Regions from separate parts of the Homo sapiens genome. Here region 2 is linked to region 1. The links are contacts of gene promoters, found by promoter capture Hi-C in human tissues and cell types (Jung and others, 2019). All regions are on one chromosome and are shown on one strand. The core of a region is centred on a gene start or on the middle of the fragment in contact, and the rest is flanking DNA. Distances in the headings are between cores, read along the strand shown. Region 1 holds the start of WASF3 (WASP family member 3). Region 2 has its middle 34 kb from the start of GPR12.

What was found. The method cuts DNA at HindIII sites, captures the fragments that hold promoters and counts their contacts. A contact is called where the count stands out against the background at its distance.
Region 2: a fragment that was not itself captured here is called in contact with the fragment with the promoter of WASF3 in region 1 in 2 of the 25 tissues and cell types used here (aorta and dorsolateral prefrontal cortex).

What each region holds. Positions count from the first base shown.
Region 1 is chr13:26,555,727-26,561,003 of GRCh38, reverse strand. It overlaps WASF3 (WASP family member 3), which reads right to left and starts at 3,321. Exons shown (of 10, transcript NM_006646.6): 1 at 3,185-3,321. RefSeq lists silencers at 3,218-3,427, 3,688-3,747. The HindIII fragment of the contact is 5,812 bases long and covers 2,269-5,277 here.
Region 2 is chr13:26,723,697-26,728,973 of GRCh38, reverse strand. No RefSeq gene overlaps it. Among named protein-coding and RNA genes, the nearest start is that of GPR12, 34 kb to the left of the region's middle. The HindIII fragment of the contact is 4,497 bases long and covers 801-5,277 here.

The sequences.
Region 1 (5,277 bases), core at 2,072-4,571:
ACACCCTCTCCTCAACCCAGACTTCGACCAATTCCTTCTCATGGTGCTTCCTCTGGGAGGCTTTCCTGTCTCTCTGAACGTCCCTAAGCTTGGGTTTATGGTCCTCCTCTGAGCTCTTGTTGCTGGCCCCTTTCAGATCCCATATCAAACAATACATTGTAACCAACGGTTAAAACTCTTTGAGACTGAACTGCACAGCAAGCTCATCGGGGGCTGACAGAGGTATCTGTCTTGTTTATCTCTGTATCCCCGGCACATATTAAAACTCTGAAGTGTACTGAATGAATAAAGCAAATGAATGAATGGATTAGGTCATGCATGAGGCTCCTACATCCCTCACTGATTACTGACTCTATCATGGTACTTATCACACTGCACTGTAATTGCTTGTCCTGGTAGACTATGAACATCTTGAAAGCGTCTGTCTCTTATTTTTGCAACCCTAGTGATTAAAATAGTACCTGGTACCTAGTAGGCATTCATGAAATGGTTTTTTTAACATACAGGGTTATATATTTCATCTACAGTATTAAATGGAAAAAATCCAGAAGGATACACCCTATATTATGGTTACCTCTGAAGAAAGAAATAGGAATAGGACAACAATAAGACGGGAAAAAGAAAACTTAAGACTTTTTACCTCTATAAATCTCTGTGTTGATATTGTTTATTTTATAATGTACATCATTTATGTATTACTGGCATAAAATATTTCTGTATTACCAGCATAAAGTCAAGCCACAGGTAAAGAACCAGCCCTGAAGAAGAATGTGTGGGGCTGTCAGAAGCATTTAGTTCCACATGCCCAAGAGCAAAGCCAAAAAAAGCCTGACTTGAAAGAAACAGGGCCCTTAAAACGGACTGAGAAGAGAAGTTGAGAGATTCGGCCGGGAGCGGTGGCTCACGCCTGTAATCCCAGCATTTTGGGAGGCCGAGGTGGGCGGATCAACCTGAGGTCAGGAGTTCGAGACCAATCTGTCCAACATGGTGAAACTGCATCTCTACTAAAAGTACAAAAATTAGCCGGGCATGGTGGCGGGCGCCTGTACTCCCAGCTACTCGGGAGTCTGAGGCAGGAGAATCGCTTGAACCCAGGAGGCGGAGGTTGCAGTGAGCCGAGATCACACCACTGCACTCCAGTCTGGGAGACAAGAGCAAGACTCCGTCTCAAAAAAAAAAAAAAAAAAAAAAAAAAGAAAGAAAGAAAGAAAGAAAAGAAAAGAAAAAGAGATTCAAGGTCTACAGCAATGGAGAGCCACCCAAAGTGAAAAACAATCTGGGAGTACTCTTCAAAGAAAGTCCTTGGAATTCCAAAGACGATCACTAGTACTAGCCCGTGAGTAGGGACAATTCATTTAATACTTGCATTATAACGCAATTGTTTTAATCAAAACATCCCAATAACCAAAAGGTTACCTGCCATACATAGGTTTCTATGGGAACCGTAACGTGTGACTACAAAGACACACTGACAAGAGATAGGAGGTTACAATGTTGGCATGACCACTTAGCAAAGTGTGTTCCACCTTTGTTTTCGTAATTGTTGAAGATAGTGAAGCACATCATTGACTATTAGGTTGTAAATTTTAAAGCAAACAGATTTTTTAAAAACAAATGCTATTAAGCAACTTCATGTCAGCCAACTGGAAATGCAAGAACAATTTCTATATGTACATAGTTCTAGAATAAGCACAGGTTGGAAGGTAAATATAATAGTTGACCAAACTTTCCAATATTTAAACATGTGAAAAGACACAGCTTTTGTGAATACCAACTAAGAAAATCTTTCAAGATGAAGAAAAATGAGTACTACACTGAAGTCATTAGAACCCTGGGAGAAGGGAGCTGGAGAGGACACAATGAGAATGCCTTTGGGAAAGGTCAAACCCAGCTTTCGTTTGTTTAACCTCTCAAGCAGATAAAAGAACTAGCTTTAAAGAACCACTGCATTGTTTAACTGCTAGAAAAGGAGAGTTGGGTAAAGCACATATAAAAAGAAGCAATAGAATTTGCCCTAGAGACAATAGAAAGATTAGTCAATTACAATACTTTGAACTTAGTTTTGATAGAGTCGCATTTTAAGCTTTAGATAAACCTAATTTTTAAGATGCAAAATATTTCAAATAGCTATCCTCTCCCCCTTATAAAAAGTAGACTCTGAATCTTAAAATACCATGTTCTGCTATGCATTTAATTTGAAGAACTGCGAAAAGTAGTCTTTTTAATTTTCAGTTTTTGAAAACTCGAGACTGTTGCTGGAAGTAAACCGCTAATTTAAAAATTAACCTTAAAATGAGAAAGAATTCCTATGATGCTCCCATTGATCCCTAAGCCCATCACATAGTTTCTGAATAATTAAGAACTCTCGTCTCCACCAGGGAACTCTCCCTTGCAGAGGGGCCAAATCAAGAAGCAATCGCCATTGCACGTCAGCACCACAAACTGAGAGGAAGCTTCTGCCCTCGCTAAAGCCCAGGCGCGCGGGTAAAGACCCCCGGGGATGATACCCCGCGCGCCGCGGCTCCGTGCGCGCGGTCCCCCGCACTCGCGGGCCGCCCCACCTCCTCCCCTGCACTCCAAGAGTCCGGCCTGGTCTCCGAGGCCGGGAGCCACGCGGCACCGCAGCCTCGAGGGAGAGGACGCCCGCAACCAACACGCACGCGGGCACCAAGAGGGCACAGGCCAGGGCGGCGAGGGCCGAATGGGGCCGGGGGGCACGCGGAGCTGGACCAGAACCAGCGAGGGCGCGCAGACACTGAACGGATGCGAAGGTCCCGGACGCGGAGCGGCCCGGGGCGTCGTGCGTGGGGCGCGAGCGGAGGCCCGGGCGCCACTTACGGCGGGGAGGGCGGGTGGCTGTCCCGAGTCCAGGGAGCGCGCACCGGACGGCAAAGGGCCGGAGGCCCGGAGGCGCGGGAGAGAAGGGCCGCCTGGCCGCGCCGTGACGGCGAGAAGCCCCTGCCAGCGCGGGAGCCGGCCGGGAGAATGCGGCCGGGCTGCAGGGATAGGCGCGAGGCGGCGCCGCAGCCCGCAGTGGGCCCCGCCGCCCGGCCGGAGCGCGCGGCGATGCAGCAACTTCAGTTCGCCGTGGGGCCGCCCCTCCCCCGACAGCCGCCCGGCCCGGAGCCGAGAGGGCCACAGCAGCCTACAGCGGAGAGCCGGGGCGACCGCAGCCCTCACTCACCGGTCCGCGGTCCCGCCGCCGGCGCCGGGGCTGCGCTCTGAGCTCCATGGTCCCGCCGCGCCGCGGCCGCCCGGCGCACCCGCCTCGCACCACACCGCACGCAGCGGCGCGAGCGACGCCGCCTCCGGCCCGTCCACGGCCGCGGCCACGCCCCCTCCCGGCGGGGGGGCTCGGCCGGAGCAGGAGGGGGGCTCAGTGCCGGCTCCACCAACCAGGGCCAACTCACGGGGCCGCTTCACCAGGATTGGCGAGTGCCTCGGCCAATAGGGAGCCGGCGAGCGCGCTGAGCGACGGTGCCGAGGGGCGGGGGATTGCGGAGGCGGTGGCTCTCACCCTTGGTCCTCCGCCCCCAGCTCGGGATGAGGCTTAGGCAGCGTCCTTTCCAGCGAGGAGAGGTGGGGATACTTCGGGCCAAGAGACCCTTGTATCACCTCTGATTGCTAGGTGCCCATTACAGTACCTTTGAGTTTGCGCTTATATCCTAATCCTCCCTGGGTGTTGAGGGCTCCTGCACAGAGGTCCTCTACCTGTAAGGTGTCAGACGTCCTCCAGGGCTGAGGCTTCAGGCAACCCTGAGAGGACTGTAGCCCTGTTCATGGGTTGGTTTTATGCCCTGCTCAAATTCGTTAGCATTCTTAAAATCTTCCCATCTCCTTCAACACAGATTCTTCTGTTTTTATCACCCTATAACCAATCTCTCTCCACCCTAGATGTGAGGAAATCCACAATACTTATTAAAACTAAGATATCCCTGAAACTGCCAGCTAAGCCCTGCCACAGTGGAACATAGCCACGTGCGACCAGATGACTGAGGCATAAACAAACTTAAGAAAAAGAAAGGAGGAAAGGAAAGGAAGAGAAGAAAAGATAGAAAAGCCAAGATAGAAAAGCTAGGTCACAAAGGAAAGGGGTTTAAAAACATCTAATAGAAATGTTACCTTTATTTTAATTTGCATGCCTTTATTCTTTTTATTTACCAATAGGATCACTAAATTGAAAAACTTTTAGGAAAAAATTTTAAATTCTAATGAATAGTTCAAGAAACACTAATTCAAGTTGGTTTGCTCTTTTCTTTACAGATGTGTAATAATGATCAACATCTAGCTAGAGACAACTAAAAGTTGGAAAAAATGAATAGCAGTTAATAATTTCACCAAAGTTTGCAACACCAGAAATGCAGTAGAAAAATCATGCAGCCCTCTTCATAAAATGTCTAATCTATTAACCTGCATTACTTCCAAAGGAGGGATTTTAAAAGCTCTTTTTAAAGATGACGTATATTCAGTTTCCATAAAGTGCCATCATTTTAAAAAATTGCTGGTAATTAACAAGGTAAACAGGATTTTGGTGAATAATTACAGTGACCCAGTATTTTAAATATTGATACTAGAGTGACAAATGTCTGCTGAATTGAAAGCTAAATTGGCATTCAAATTAAAATGACTTTCCTTCATTTCATCTTCACTTACCCAGGGGAATGGCTTCCATGTCTATGTTTAGGTCATTAATTTAGAACTCAAAAATATGAAAGTATAGATACCCAGAGTGTTTTCAAGGTTGCTAATCATATTTCCCTGGCTGCTTCCCTCTTCGGTGACCCCAGCCTTATAAACCGCTGCTACACTTAGTTTGCACTCACTGTTAGCCCTTAAACACATCATCCCAAAGTGTTCAGGTTTGTTTCATATAGGTCAGTCTTACCTCTCTAATTAGATCATCAGTTCCATGAGGATAAGGCCCTTATTTTACAGTCCTCTTTCCTCCTTTTATAATGCCTAGTACAGTGCTGAGCATGTGGTAAATATGATTCTATTCCTAGTGTTGTGGTTCATGGTACAAATAAATTATTTCAAATATGGTCTTGTGTGAACCAGTCCTTTAAATAAAAACTGCTTAGAGCAGTCTTGTTAGAGGATTAGAGCCCACCGCTAATAAGTGCCTCATCCTTAATAAAATGTTGCTGCATCAGGGAGTGAATTGGTGACCTGTAACAGAATCTTGACTAAAAGTGCCTACTAAATAGGAGTGCTTCTTATCACAAAACCAGAAACCTGGAGACAGCCACAGGGCTTCTGTAATATCTCTTCTATGGT
Region 2 (5,277 bases), core at 1,800-4,299, 170 kb before region 1:
GGGCAGAATGAGGCAAGTGAAAAATCAGAGGCTAAACCCCTCGAGGGGAAGGCCTCACTGACCTCCTCCCCCAGGCTGAACAATCCTGAGAGGTGCGAAACACATCAGCCCTACTACATCAAGCCACACCCACCCCAATTTTGAAACGTGTGAATCACAGCTAAACTTGAACCTGGACTTGGCTCTGTACTCATCCACAACTGTTAAGTGTGGACCTACACTAAAGCACAGCCCCAAACAGGGAAGCTGGAATTCAGGGCCAAGATGTAGCCAGACTCCAAAACACCATGTGAGTGGGAGAAGGGGTGAAAGACACATGCAACAGACAATGTTGCCCCTTTTGACGACCAATTCCTGAATGTCTCTTCACTATTTAGATGAATTTCCACCTCTCAGTATAAAACCAAGGATGCTAGAATATCACTCCCCTGCTGTGGTGCTGAGAAGCAAGGATCCTGTTGAACCGGGTTTGGCAGAGTTGTGGGGGCCAGGACAGCTTCACTCAGTTTCCGGCGCAGCAGGTGGACCAGCAGGGCTCGTGACACCACGGGGCTCCTGCAGCGTCGTGTGCTCAAGCACAGAGTTCTGCAGAGCAATTATGGGCATTTTCCTGCTACACAAACCTTGAGCCTGCCTCTCCGGCTCTTTATCTGCCTGCTCCTATTTCTTGAAGTCCCAGAATTGGGCTTTGTGATGGTTTTTATGTGTCTGTGCCACAGAACATCCAGACATCTGGTCAAACATTATTCTAGGTGTTTCTGTGAGGGTATTTTTTGGTGAGGTTGACATTTAAACCAGTAGACAGAGTAGGGCAGATTTTTTCTCCCATTGTGGGTGGGTCCCTGGATGGGTGCCATCTAGTCAACTGAAGACCTGAAGAGAACAAAAAGGCCAACCCTCCCACCATCAGTAAGTAGGGAGTTCCTCCTGCCTGATGGCCTTGAAAAACACTTGTTTCTTTCCTGCCTTTGGACTTGAATTGAAACATCAGCTCTCATGGGTCTCAAACCTGTTGGCACTGAGACTAGAACTGTACCATTGGCTCTCTTGGGTCTCCAGCTTGCCAACTACACACCTTGAGACTTCTCATCCTCCATAATTTCATGAGTCAATGCCTTATAATAAATCTCCCCCTTCACCTTGAACTAACACAGGACCAACCAGACTGGTTTCTGTTGCTTGTGACTAACTACCCTGCTTAACAAAGACAGAGATTGGCTCTGGGAATGGTTGCTGGCATCAGGCTCTCAGGGAAACAAAAAAAAAGTCTGGAACTATAAGAAAAAGGCAAGTTATTAAAAAATGGGCAAAAGTCTTTGCATAAAGGATATCCAAATGGACAACAAGCATATTTTAACAGTGTTCAACCTAGAAAAATGGAAATTAAGGTGAAATGCAAATTAAAGCCATAATGAAAAAGCACTATACACCCAACAAAACTGGCCCACTGGAAAGGATGGAAAATCCTGGTGAGAGCGTGGAGCAACCAGAATGTTCATGTGCTGCTTACAAGAGTGTTACAATTTTGGAAAACTGCTTGGAATACCTTCTAAAGCTGGAATACGCACATTCTGTGACCCAGTAATCCCATCCCAAGTAATACAGCCAATACACACAAGACATGCAACAGAATGTTTATAGCAGCTCTACTCACAGTAGCCCCAAAGGGGACGCTACCCAAATTCACACCAAGAGTACAGTGGATAAATAAACCATATTTGCAGGATGGAATACTCTAGGGATTAGCAAGCTACAGCTCATTGCCTGTTTTTGTACAGCTTGAGAGTTAAGAATCATTTTTGTATTTTCAAAGTGTTGTAACTAATCTCTGAACCTCACAGAAGAGAACAAGAAGAGGAGGAGGAGGAGGAGGAAGAAAATGTGACAAAGATCACATGTGGCTTGCAAAACCTAAACTATTCATTATTTGGCCCTTTATAAAGTTTTCTGACTCCTACAATACTCTACAGCAAGCTTGTCCAGGCCGCATGAGGCCCAGGACGGCTTTGAATGCGGCCCAACACAAATTCGTCAACTTTCTTAAAATATTATGAGATTTTCTTTCCAATTTATTTTTAGCTCATCAGCTATTGTTAGCATCAGTGTATTCTACATGTGGCCCCAGACAATTCTTCTTCTTCGACTGTGGCCCGGGGAAGCCAAAAGATTGGACGCCCTGCTCTATAGCAATAAAAATAAGCAACAAACATAATGTTGAGAAAAGCTAGACACAAGAATACATATACCGTGTAATTATATTTATAAAAACAGCAAACCCAGGTAGAACTAGTCTGAGCTGTTGGAAATTAGGATCGTGGCTGCCCTGAGGGCAGGAGGCAGTGGCTGGAAAGGAGGCGAAGGGGTTTCTGGGGCCTTGGTACTGTGCCATTCCTCCATGTGAGTGTTAGTTACACAAATGTGTTGTTTGAGAAAAACATTTAATTTCAATTTCTGCAATTTTCTGTATGTTCACTGGGCTTCATTAAAAGGTTCAAAACAAAAAAGCACACCACCTTTTCCCACCACACTCAAAATCACTACACAGGTGTAGCCTCTATGGTGGGGGGAGAAGGGAGGGGCTTCAAAACCAATAAACAAACAAGAACGGGGTTAAATATCTACTGAAGTGAGACTGTTTAAGAGCAAAGTGGAATCTAAATTGTCATTTCCCTACATGTCAGGAAACGGGCGTTCAACATAGCCCAGAAATAGGTCCACACAAACAGAGTCAACTGACATTTGACAAAGGAGCAAAGGCAGTTCCATGGAGCAAAGACAGTCTTTTGAACAATTGGCTCTGGAGCAACTAGACACCCACAGGCAAAAGAATGAATCTAGACACAGAACCTCACAAAAATTAACTCAAAGGGAATCATAGACCTAAATGCAAAACACAAAACATCTGTGGGATACCAAAGGAGAAAATCTAGGTAATCTTAGACTTGGTGGTAAGCTTTTAGATACATCACCAAAAGCATAATCCATGAAAGAAAAAAATTGTTAAGTTGGACTTCATTAAAATTAAAAACTTCTGGCTGGGAGCAGTGGCTCACACCTGTAATCCCAGCAATTTGGGAGGCCGAGGAGGCCAGATCACTTGAGGTCAGGAGTTTGAGACCAGCCTGGTTAACATGGTGAGACCCCGTCCCTACTAAAAATACAAAAAGTAATCAGATGTTGTGGTGCATGCCTGTAGTCCCACCTACTTGGGAGGCTGAGGCAGGAGAATCACTTGAACCCAGGAGGCAGAGGCTGCAGTGAGCCAAGATCATGCCACTGCGCCTTAGCTTGGCTGACAGAGTGAGACTCCATCTCAACAACAACAACAACAACAAAAATTAAAAACTTCTGTTCTGCAAGAGACACTGTATGTGACTGAGAAGACAAGCACCTGTGTCCAAAATATGCAAGGAACCATCAAAACTTAACAATAGGAAACAACTCAGTTTAAAAATGGGCAAAGGACATGAGCAGACATCTCACCAAAGGAGATACACAGATGGCAAATAAGCATATGAAAAGATGTTCAACATCACACCATAAGAGAATTGCAAATTAAAATAAGATACCACTACACATCTATTAGAATGGCCTTAATCCAGAACACTGACATCACCAAATGCTAGTGAGGATATGGGGCAACAGGAATTAACATTCACAGCTGGTAAGGATGCAAAATGGGACAACCACTTTAGAAGACAGTTTGGAAGTTTCTCGCAATGTTAAACATAATCTTATATGATCCAGCAATTGTGCTCCTAGATATTAACCCAATTCAGTTGAAAACCTATGTCTTTACAGAAACCTGCACACAAATATTTATAGTAGCTTTATTAATAATTACACCAAACTGAAAGCAACCAAGATGTTTTTCAGTAGGTGAATGATAAGCAAATGGTGATACAACCAGACAATTAAATAGTATTCATCAATTTAAAAAAATGAGCAATCAAGCTACCAGAAGACATAGTGGCTTTCTCTTTTCAGGAAGAACCTGAAAAGCATATTGCTAAGGGAAAGAAGCCAACCTGAATGATTCCAACTATAACACATTCTGGAAAAGGCAAAACTATGGAGACAGTAAAAAAGTTCGATGGTTACCAGGGGTTGGTGGGAGGGAGGAATGCATAGGTGGAGAACAGGGGATTTTTTTTTTTTTAATTGATCATTCTTGGGTGTTTCTCACAGAGGGGGATTTGGCAGGGTCATAGGACAATAGTGGAGGGAAGGTCAGCAGATAAACAAGTGAACAAAGGTCTCTGGTTTTCCTAGGCAGAGGACCCTGAGGCCTTCCGCAGTGTTTGTGTCCCTGGGTACTTGAGATTAGGGAGTGGTGATGACTCTTAAGGAGCATGCTGCCTTCAAGCATCTGTTTAACAAAGCACATCTTGCACCGCCCTTAATCCATTTAACCCTGAGTGGACACAGCACATGTTTCAGAGAGCACAGGGTTGGGGGGTAAGGTCACAGATCAACAGGATCCCAAGGCAGAAGAATTTTTCTTAGTACAGAACAAAATGAAAAGTCTCCCATGTCTACTTCTTTCCACACAGACACGGCAACCATCCGATTTCTCAATCTTTTCCCCACCTTTCCCCGCTTTCTATTCCACAAAACCGCCATTGTCATCATGGCCCGTTCTCAATGAGCTGTTGGGCACACCTCCCAGACGGGGTGGTGGCCGGGCAGAGGGGCTCCTCACTTCCCAGAAGGGGTGGCCGGGCAGAGGCGCCCCTCACCTCCCGGACGGGGCGGCTGGCCGGGCGGGGGGCTGACCCCCCCCACCTCCCTCCCGGACGGGGCGGCTGGCCGGGCGGGGGGCTGACCCCCTACCTCCCTCCCGGACGGAGCGGCTGGCCGGGCAGAGGGGCTCCTCACTTCCCAGTAGGGATGGCTGGGCAGAGGCGCCCCTCACCTCCCTGACGGGGCGGCTGGCCGGGCGGGGGGCTGACCCCCCCACCTCCCTCCCGGACGGGGCGGCTGCCGGGCGGAGACGCTCCTCACTTCCCAGACGGGGTGGCTGCCGGGCGGAGGGGCTCCTCACTTCTCAGACGGGGCGGTTGCCAGGTGGAGGGTCTCCTCCCTTCTCAGATGGGGCGGCTGGGCAGAGACGCTCCTCACCTCCCAGACGGGGTCGCGGCCGGGCAGAGGCGCTCCCCACATACCAGACGGGGCGGCGGGGCAAAGGCGCTCCCCACATCTCAGACGATGGGCGGCCGGGCAGAGATGCTCCTCACTTCCTAGATGGGATGGCGGCCGGGAAGAGGCGCTCCTCAC